Regions from separate parts of the Homo sapiens genome. Here region 1 is linked to region 2. The links are contacts of gene promoters, found by promoter capture Hi-C in human tissues and cell types (Jung and others, 2019). All regions are on one chromosome and are shown on one strand. The core of a region is centred on a gene start or on the middle of the fragment in contact, and the rest is flanking DNA. Distances in the headings are between cores, read along the strand shown. Region 1 has its middle 5.6 kb from the start of TRL-AAG1-3. Region 2 holds the start of TRIM41 (tripartite motif containing 41).

Evidence for each region. Contacts are between HindIII fragments. The study calls those that stand out against the background at their distance.
Region 1: a contact is called between a fragment that was not itself captured here and the fragment with the promoter of TRIM41 in region 2, in 1 of the 25 tissues and cell types used here (lymphoblastoid cells).

The regions. Positions count from the first base shown.
Region 1 is chr5:181,177,566-181,181,876 of GRCh38, reverse strand. No RefSeq gene overlaps it. Among named protein-coding and RNA genes, the nearest start is that of TRL-AAG1-3, 5.6 kb to the right of the region's middle. The HindIII fragment of the contact is 3,593 bases long and covers 785-4,311 here.
Region 2 is chr5:181,221,075-181,225,463 of GRCh38, reverse strand. TRIM41 (tripartite motif containing 41) reads right to left here and starts at 2,183. Exons shown (of 6, transcript NM_033549.5): 1 at 652-2,183. The coding sequence starts at 1,464. It overlaps TRK-CTT2-3 (tRNA-Lys (anticodon CTT) 2-3), which reads left to right and starts at 3,413; the gene lies at 3,413-3,485. It overlaps TRV-CAC1-5 (tRNA-Val (anticodon CAC) 1-5), which reads left to right and starts at 2,997; the gene lies at 2,997-3,069. It overlaps MIR4638 (microRNA 4638), which reads left to right and starts at 2,831; the gene lies at 2,831-2,898. RefSeq lists enhancers at 290-1,287, 1,955-2,184 and silencers at 1,435-1,644, 2,915-3,144, 3,395-3,604. The HindIII fragment of the contact is 24,392 bases long and covers 1-4,389 here.

The sequences.
Region 1 (4,311 bases), core at 1,332-3,831, 44 kb after region 2:
GATCGCAGGAGCCCCAGAGGTGGAGGCTGCAGCGAGCCAAGGTTGTGCCACTGCACTCCAGCCTGGGCAGCAGAGGCAGACTCTGTCTCATACACCAGCAAAACACAAAGAAATCACAGGTCCTTTCATATCACATGTCAAATCATAGTTCTTGTAGGCACTTTGAAATATCACTTATGCTCATTAGTACTTAAAAATTATGGTAATTGTCCTGGCAGTGTGACTCACAGCTGTAATTCCAGCTATTTGGGAGGCCAAGGTATTTGAATCGCTTGAGGCCAGGAGTTTGAGACCAGCAAGGGCAACATAGGGAGACCCCATCTCTACAAAAAATGCAAAATATTAGCCAGAAATGGTGGCATGCACCTGTAGCCCCAAGTACTTGAGAGGCTGAGGTGGGAGGATCCCTTCAGCCCAGGAGGTCATGGCTGCAGTGAGCTAGGTTCTTCCCACTGCTCTCCAGCCTTAGCAACAGAGCAAGACCCTGTCTCAAAAAACCAAAACCAAAAACAAACAGAAAGAAAGCATTATTCTGAGAAGGAGTCCATAACTTTCACCAGACTGGTAGTCCATGGCCACCCATCTTTAAAAGGGCTCAGACTCGGCTGGGCGTGGTGGCTCACACCTGTAATCTCAGCACTTTGGGAGGCTGAGGCAGGTGGATCACTGGAGGTTAGGAGTTCAAGACCAGCCTGACCAACATGGTGAAACCCCGTCTCTACTAAAAATACAAAAAATTAGCCAGGCATGGTGATGGGTGCCTGTAATCCCAGCTACTCAGGAGGCTGAGGCAGGAGAATCACTTGAACCTGGGAGACAGAGGTTGCAGTGAGCTGAGATGATGCCACTGCACTCCAGCCTGGGCAAAAAGAGTGAAACCCTGTCTCAAAAAAAAAAAAAAAAAAGCCTCAGAGTCTTGCAAATAGTACAAAAGAGTTGTGGGTCAAAGGTGGAACATGAAGTCCCCCTTTGATAAATGAGTGAGTGACTTTCGGAGAACCAAAAGCCCCACAGATCCAAGAGTAGTCAAGTAGGGCTGCTAGAAGAGCCCCATGCTTGTGAGTCAGGAGGGAGGTGCTGGTGGCCTCATCCAGGGCACTGTCAGGGGACAGGTTGGTGACAGCTGAGGTGCCACCTGGGACTGGCCAGGGCCAGAGGTGATTGAACTTTTGCAACGGATGTCCCCAGCTGAGAGTGAGGACTGTGCAGGGTTGGCTTGTTGAATCAATGAAGGATTATTACCAATCATATATTTTCTTTCCATTCATTCATTCATTTATTTATGTGCCTAACTCCTGTCCCACATCCTGTCTAGGTGCTAAGGGGACAAAGGTTCCTGGCCTCAGCACACTCTCAGATTCACAGGGAGACAGAACTGAGACTGAGAGCTGGTTCCTCTCCCTCTCTCGTGGGGATACAGTGAGAAGGCAGCTGGGCAGAAATCAGGAAGAGGATCCTTACCAAGAACTGCAGTGTGCTGCACCCTGATCTAGACTTCCAGCCTGCGAAACTGTGAGAAATCAATGTCATTGTTTGAGCAGCCTGGCATATGGTATTGTGTTACAGCAACCCGAACCAAGACAAAGGTTCTCAGCTGGGGAGACAGAAACTCATCTGGAGCCTGCACTCCCCCTGGGGAGGGGAAGATGCCTGTCGACCTGGACAGAGGGCCTGGACAGAGGCAGCCCTGGGCTGAGTTGGCCCTTGCTTGCCGCTTCTCCTTGGGAGCACTGGGACAGGATCCCAGAAGGTTCCAGAATGCATGTCAAGCAAGCAGCAGTCCCTGTGGAGTTTGGGGTAACATGCACAGAGGAAGAAATGGCGGAAAAGCAGCATCAGGATGGCTTTAGGGCAGGGAGCTGCTGGAAGGTGGCAGACAGAGTGAGCAGGGGCAGGAGATGGGCCAGCGAGGCACCCGCTGACATGGAAGTGCCGTCATGCGCTGCACAGCAACCTTCCAGGCAAGGAGGGACACGTGCATGACAGTGGTCCCATGACTATGATGGAGCTGAAGAATTCCTATGGCCTAGGGATGTCATAGCCGTGGTACTGTCGTAGCACAGACGTCACTCGTGGGAGCGATGGGCTATGCCACCCAGCCTAGGGGTAAATGAGGTGCACCTTCCAAGAGCCACCTAATCACCATTTCCCAGAATGCATCCTTGTTGTTAAGGGGCCCGTGACTGTATGTCTTGGGAAGCAACACGTGACTGTTGTCCCGCCCTGCACTGACTGCCCAGCGAGCGCTCAGAATGCATTAGATATGGGGTGGACAGAGGAGGAGGACAGCACCAGCACCCAGACAGCAACTTCCCTTGGAATCACCATTTCCTGAACCAGGGGATCTCCCCAGCCACCCACACCAAAGCCTAAACTCTCATACCTCCTCTCTCTAAAGCAGGGGTCTGCAAGCTTTCTCTGCAAGGGCCACGTACAGAATCTTTTCAGTTTTGTCGGAAGTACCCACGTCTGCCCTTTTGGTGCCAAAGCCAGTAAAGGTGACACATAATGAGAGGGAGGCGCCGTGTGCCAATGGGACATGTGTGCCAATGGGACTTGACTCACAGACACCAACATTTGAATTTCATCTAATTTTTACATGTCATGAAATATTATTCTTTTTATTTTTTTAACCAGTAAAAAATGTTCTTAGCTCGCTGGGCTGGAGAGAAATAGGTTGCAGGCTGGATTTGGCCTGAGGGTAGTTTGCTGACCAAGGGAAAGGGAAAAAACCAAACTTGCTCTAACCCACCTCTCTCCCTCCAGTCCCATGCAGTCCCACTTTCCTTATTTTTTTATTTTTTATTTTTATTTTATTTTATTTTTTTGAGACAGGGTCTTGCTCTGTCGTCCAGGCTGGAGTGCAGTGGCACGATCTCAGCTCACTGCAATTCTCCTGCCTCAGCCTCCCAAGTAGCTGGGACTACAGGCGCCCGCCACCATGCCCGGCTAATTTTTTGTATTTTTAGTAGAGATGGGGTTTCACCATGTTGGCCGGGATGGTCTTGAACTCCTGACCTCAGGTGATCCGCCCACCTCAGCCTCCCAAAGTGCTGGGATTACAGGCATGAGACACCGTGCCCGGCTTTTATTTTTTATTTTTGGGTAAAAACAAAATTATCTCCACCATTAATTTTTCTTCCTTTTGACTTGGTTTTCTATTACACAGGTAACTCTGTTCTCTCCACTGAAACGCCGCCATTACCATGTGCTCAATTCCCAAACACATTCGAGTCTCTTTATTGATTCAGTTCCACTCCATTGATCTTCTTGGTTCTTCCTGCACCAGGACCAAAGTTATTACAGTTAATAATACATGGAGGCTTATCTTTGTGCAGATTTCTTTGTACCGGGATTTTCAGAAGACTTTCCTAGCCCTGGAAGGCTGGTGTAAAAGAAAGGTTTCTTTCGGCCGGGCACGGCGGCTCACGCCTGTAATTCCAGCACTTTGGGAGGCCGAGGCGGGCGGATCACGAGGTCAGGAGATCGAGACCATCCCGGCCAACATGGTGAAACCCCGTCTCTACTAAAAATACAAAAAATTAGCCGGGCGTGGTGGCGGGCGCCTGTAGTCCCAGCTACTCGGGAGGCTGAGGCAGGAGAATGGCGTGAACCCGGGAGGCGGAGCTTGCAGTGAGCTGAGATCGCACCACTGCACTCCAGCCTGGGAGACAGAGCAAGACTCCGTCTCAAAAGAAAAAAAAATAAATAAATAAATAAATAAATAAATAAATAAAGACAGGCATAAGAAATTATAAAAGTATTATTTTGGAACTGATAAATGTCCATGAAATCTTCACAATTTATGTTCAGAGATTGCAGTAAAGACCGGCGTAAGAAATTATAAAAGTATTAATTTTGGGAACTGATAAATGTCCATGAAATCTTCACAATTTATGTTCCTCTGCTGCAGCTCCAGCTGTTCCCTCCATTCAGGGTCCCTGACTTCCTGCCACCACGCCCAGCTAATTTGTTGTGTTTTTAGTAGAGACGGGGTTTCACTATGTTGGCCAGGCTGGTCTTGAACTCCTGACCTCAGGTGATCCGCCCACCTTCGCCTCCCAAAGTGTTGGGATTACAGGCGTGAGCCACCGTGACTGGCAGGAGCGGCTTTTTAAAGCTGTCATTGGTGAAGAAGTAACAGCCACTGGTTTTGTCTGGGTGGGATGTCTGGTGCTTTGTGGCTGGTGCAGTGAGCTTGCTTCCACCCCTGCTTCGGTGCAGTGACGAAGTGGCCTCGCGTGGTCTAATTTAATCTCGGCCTCCGAGTAGCCCTGTCCAGGGCTGTATTCTGCGGGGCTGCTTATGTCC
Region 2 (4,389 bases), core at 934-3,433:
TCCAGTGAATATTAACTATCAATCCTGGACAAATTAAAGTCCAAAGACACTCACAGACTTAATCAAGATTTGACAATGCAACTTGCAGAGCCAGGTCTTCTGACTGAAAAGCTCCTGCTTTCTAGTCAGTGCATAAGAATGACACAGAGCCAACCAAAGTCCTTGAAGACAGAACCAAGCCATATCGTGGTAGGTGGGGAACCCACTGGGAGGCAAGTGCAGAGCATTTGGGTCTGACACTGACACTAGCAGTTATCTCTGTGTTCCTGCTTCTGAGCCTTTTCTTGTCCTTTGAAGCCCCCAGTTCTTTCCATCTCTAGGTGTCTCCGTCAAGGACAGACTTAAGACTCACCCGAAAGAAAACGAGACTTCTGGTAAAGCCCTAGAGACCTGATCTGGCATCACCGGCTTTGCTCTATTTGCTTTGAGGAAGCCATCCTTCCCTGGTCGTCTTCACTGCATCTGCTCTGTGTACAGAATCCTTCTCATTCTAATCCACCTTGGTGGCAGTAAGTGCTTAGATAAGCAAACTTGGCTCACCAATACCATGAGGTTCTTTGGTGGGTGAAGAGATGTTTCCTTTTCCCAGGTCCCCTTACTTCCTCTCCATCCCCCCACTAAACTCCCATCTTCTCTCTGTACTTCTCTCACCTTGTACTCCTGCACCACCTCCTCCAATGGCACCACGCTGTGCTGTTTGTGGCTCCTGGATTCTCGGCACACCACACAGATGGCCTCTTCGTCTACCTCGCAGAAGAGCTTCAGGGCTTCTTGGTGTTTGGGACAGATGCCCTGATCGGTCACGCGGCTCCCTCGACCAGGGGTTGGGTGCATCTGCCGAATCACCTGGACCATATTGGCCAGCTGCAGGTTGGGGCGGAAGCTCCGCCGAGGAAAGCTCTTTCGGCACTGAGGGCATGTGAAGCACCTCCGAGGGGCTGGAGGCGGGGGCAGTGGGGTGACGGGGTCTAGATCCTCTTCCTCAACCTCCTCCAGCACTTCCTCCTCGTCCTCCTCATCCTCCCCCCTCAGGTCCTCCTCCTCCATGTCCCCCAAGTAGTAGTCCAGGTCTTCCTCCTCGTCCTCCTCCTCCCACACATAGTCCATGTTGTCCCAGCTGGACCTGCTCATGCCACTGGTCCAGAACACACCCTCTTCTTCCTCCTCGACCTCCTCCTCCATGTCACCCTCGTAGTCTTCATCCCGCATGGGGGTGTCCCACCCCGCGCCAGCCCCCACAGCCTCCACTTCCTCCTCCTCTCCGTCCTCCTCCTCCTCCTCCCGATCTAACTCATCTCTGTCCTCCTCATCCTCCCCACCCCACAACTGGGTTACACAAACTCGGCAGAAGTTGTGCCCGCAGCCGATGGACACGGGGTCCGTGAAGTAATCGAGGCAGATGGCGCACACCGCCTCCTCCTGAAGGGTCTGCACAGGGTTGGGTGTCATGGCAACGGCAGCCATCTTAGTGTCCAGCCAGCCAGTGTAGAGGTTCGGTGGGGGGGCGAGGGGCGGGGGTCTTCCCTACCGACGCCCTGGCGACCCGGCTCCACCCCCAGCCCTGCCCCTCCACACCTCGCCCCAAGAGCAGCCAGAGAGATGTCCTGCCGACAACCCACCCCAACACAGTGTTCCCTACTCCCAAACGACAACCGTGTCTCTACGAGGGGAGGGGACAGTGCTGGGCGCCACCGCCAAGTCCCTCAGGTGGCTCTGAGTACAAGTCTGCCCCAATGCTCCCTTGGACTCCTCATAAACCCCCGCCCCTCCTCACTTCCTGGCCCCGCCCCTAGCTTCCGGCCTCCTTCCCAACACTTCCGGCGTCTACACACCACCTAAGCTCGCGACTTCCCTCCGCTGTCCTGCTACTCCCCCTTTTTCCCCGCGGGGCCCCAGGGCGACAGGAAATGGCGAGGAGACGCTCTAGTCCGCACTAGAGAACAGGGCGGGAGGGCTAGGACGGTGGAGGCCCGCGTCTCTGTGGTAAGAGGCCGCGGGGAACGCAGAAAGAACAGAGGAACCGCCTACCCCCATCCCCCGCCGCTGGGGAGAAACTTCGGGGGGTAGGGGGAGCGCCTGGCGGCCGTCTGCTTTCGGTGCTATCACCGCATCGGCCAGACGCCATCCTACCCTCCCGGCACAGCCGACTGCAGCCGGTACTCCCCACAGCCGATGCCGGAAGCGAGGGGGTGGGTCCGCGGCGCGCCCTGAAGTACTTCCGGCCCTTCTAGGCAGACGACTTCGTTGTGGAGGACTCAGAGGGTCGTCCGGGTCGGACCGGGGGCGGGGCCTGAGAAAGCGCTTCGCGGGTTAGGGCAGCAGACGCCCCACCCTTCCCCAACTGTAGTCGGCGTTTCGCATCCGAGGTAGAAACTGCCAACCGGACACTGTCTCATGGTTTAGATGAACTTCCCTAACTGCCCAGCAGTGAAGAAGTGGTGACGAATCATTACATCTACATTCTCACAGCATCTCTGCAAAAATAGATGCTTTGTGCGGTAGAAATAATACTTGATGCTTAAATAGCTCTTTAAATTTTATTTTTATAGAGATTTGATGTCGATACATAAATAAATAAATGTTGTTTGATGCGAGAAAAATGACGGGGCCATGATTTATGTACAGAATCTCCAGTGAGTGCCAGACACAGCGTGACGCCAGGGCTGGGCCTGCAGAACTTACCCTGCTCTCAAGGCGGCTCGCGGGAAAACTCCAGATGGACGTCGCGCTTCCTAGGGGGGTGGTCAGGCCTCTGAGTATGTCAGATCAAACGCGCCAAAAACCACGAACCCTCGTGGGTGAACTATGCTAGGCCATTACAGGACCTGCGGACTCGGCTGCGGTGGACAAGTCCGGCTCCAGAACCTGGACACCGCTCAGCCGGCCGCGGCAGGGGTCCCCGGGCCTGTCCTACAAGGGCGCTTGCCTAGAGCTATCCCGGCCGTCTCAGCCGTGTGTGTCTTCAGGACGATGCCGGCAGGAAAGTAGCCAAGGTGGTTTCCGTAGTGTAGTGGTTATCACGTTCGCCTCACACGCGAAAGGTCCCCGGTTCGAAACCGGGCGGAAACACGTTTTGGTCTGTTCGGGAGATTCTCTCCCGAGGCCGGCCTTACGTGGCAGGAAGGACATGTGTGTCCCTGCGCTTCGGAGGAACACGGACTGGGGCAAAACTGAAGGAGAGCACTACTCAAGTAAATTCAGGTCTCGCCCCTCACCTAATCTCTTGCTCTTCCCTTCTGAAGCCTATGCAGCCATCACATGTACAGGAATCCGTAGATTTCAGATCCTCGGCTCTAGTGCCTAGAACAGAGCCAGGCGCAGGCGCTTCTTAGTATTTGCACAGTGGAAACGTGCTTACACCTCTGAGGGTAACCTCCATCTTCAGAGACAAAGTTAGAATACAGACATGGCCGCCCGGCTAGCTCAGTCGGTAGAGCATGAGACTCTTAATCTCAGGGTCGTGGGTTCGAGCCCCACGTTGGGCGTAATTTCGCTTTTTGGAAAGGTTAAGGCAAGTTGTGTTACCTAAGTGCACAAATGGTATTCTCTGTACCAAGACCTAGTGGGTAGCAGATTCACCAACAGTGGGTGTTAGAACTTGGACTAACCTGGTGTTCTCCGATCCGTGTGTGGAAGGCCCCGAGCAGAATTCTCACAACGTTTGCACCCTCGCTAACTCTCAAAGAAAGAATGAGAGGCGGGTACCTGTGGACCAATTCCTGCAGGCCAGCACCGCGGGCTATCGTGCATGCATGACCCTTTGCTGTAGGCCACTCGCCCACGGGCAGCACATATTAGGCATTTTATGTTTACCAGACGGCCTGCCCCCGTCTTGCTGTGAGACTTGCTGTGCTGGAGGGAACAATGTGGTTTATCGAAACTGGGGTGAGACCGCAGGACGACCCCAGGCGTTCGTGAGCGTCAAAACCTATCTGATTCACTCCCACTTTACTGGGAGATTTAGTGGTTAGGCTTCCGCCTTTGTCTCGCTACGACCTGCTTTCGACTCCCTGTCAAGAAAGATGCTTTGTGTCATATGAGACACTTGTCTTCCGTATATTCTTTTTTATGCTCTTGACTTTAAGAGTCTATTTTTGTGAGATGTTGCCCCACAAATACCAGCCTCCACGTTTCCCCCATACATAAATAGAGATAAAAACGGGCCATGCGCCGCGGTGGCTTATGCCTGTAATCCCAATACTTTGGGTAAGCCAAGGCGGGAGGATCGCTTGAGCCCAGGATGGCCTCGAAATTAGTCCTGCAAATATAGGCCTTTTTTCTTTTTTTCTTCTCTTTCTTTCTTTCTTTTTTTTTTTTTTTTTTTAAGATGGAGTCTTGCTCTGTTTCCAGGCTGAAGTGCAGTGGCACCACCTCGGCTCACTACGACCT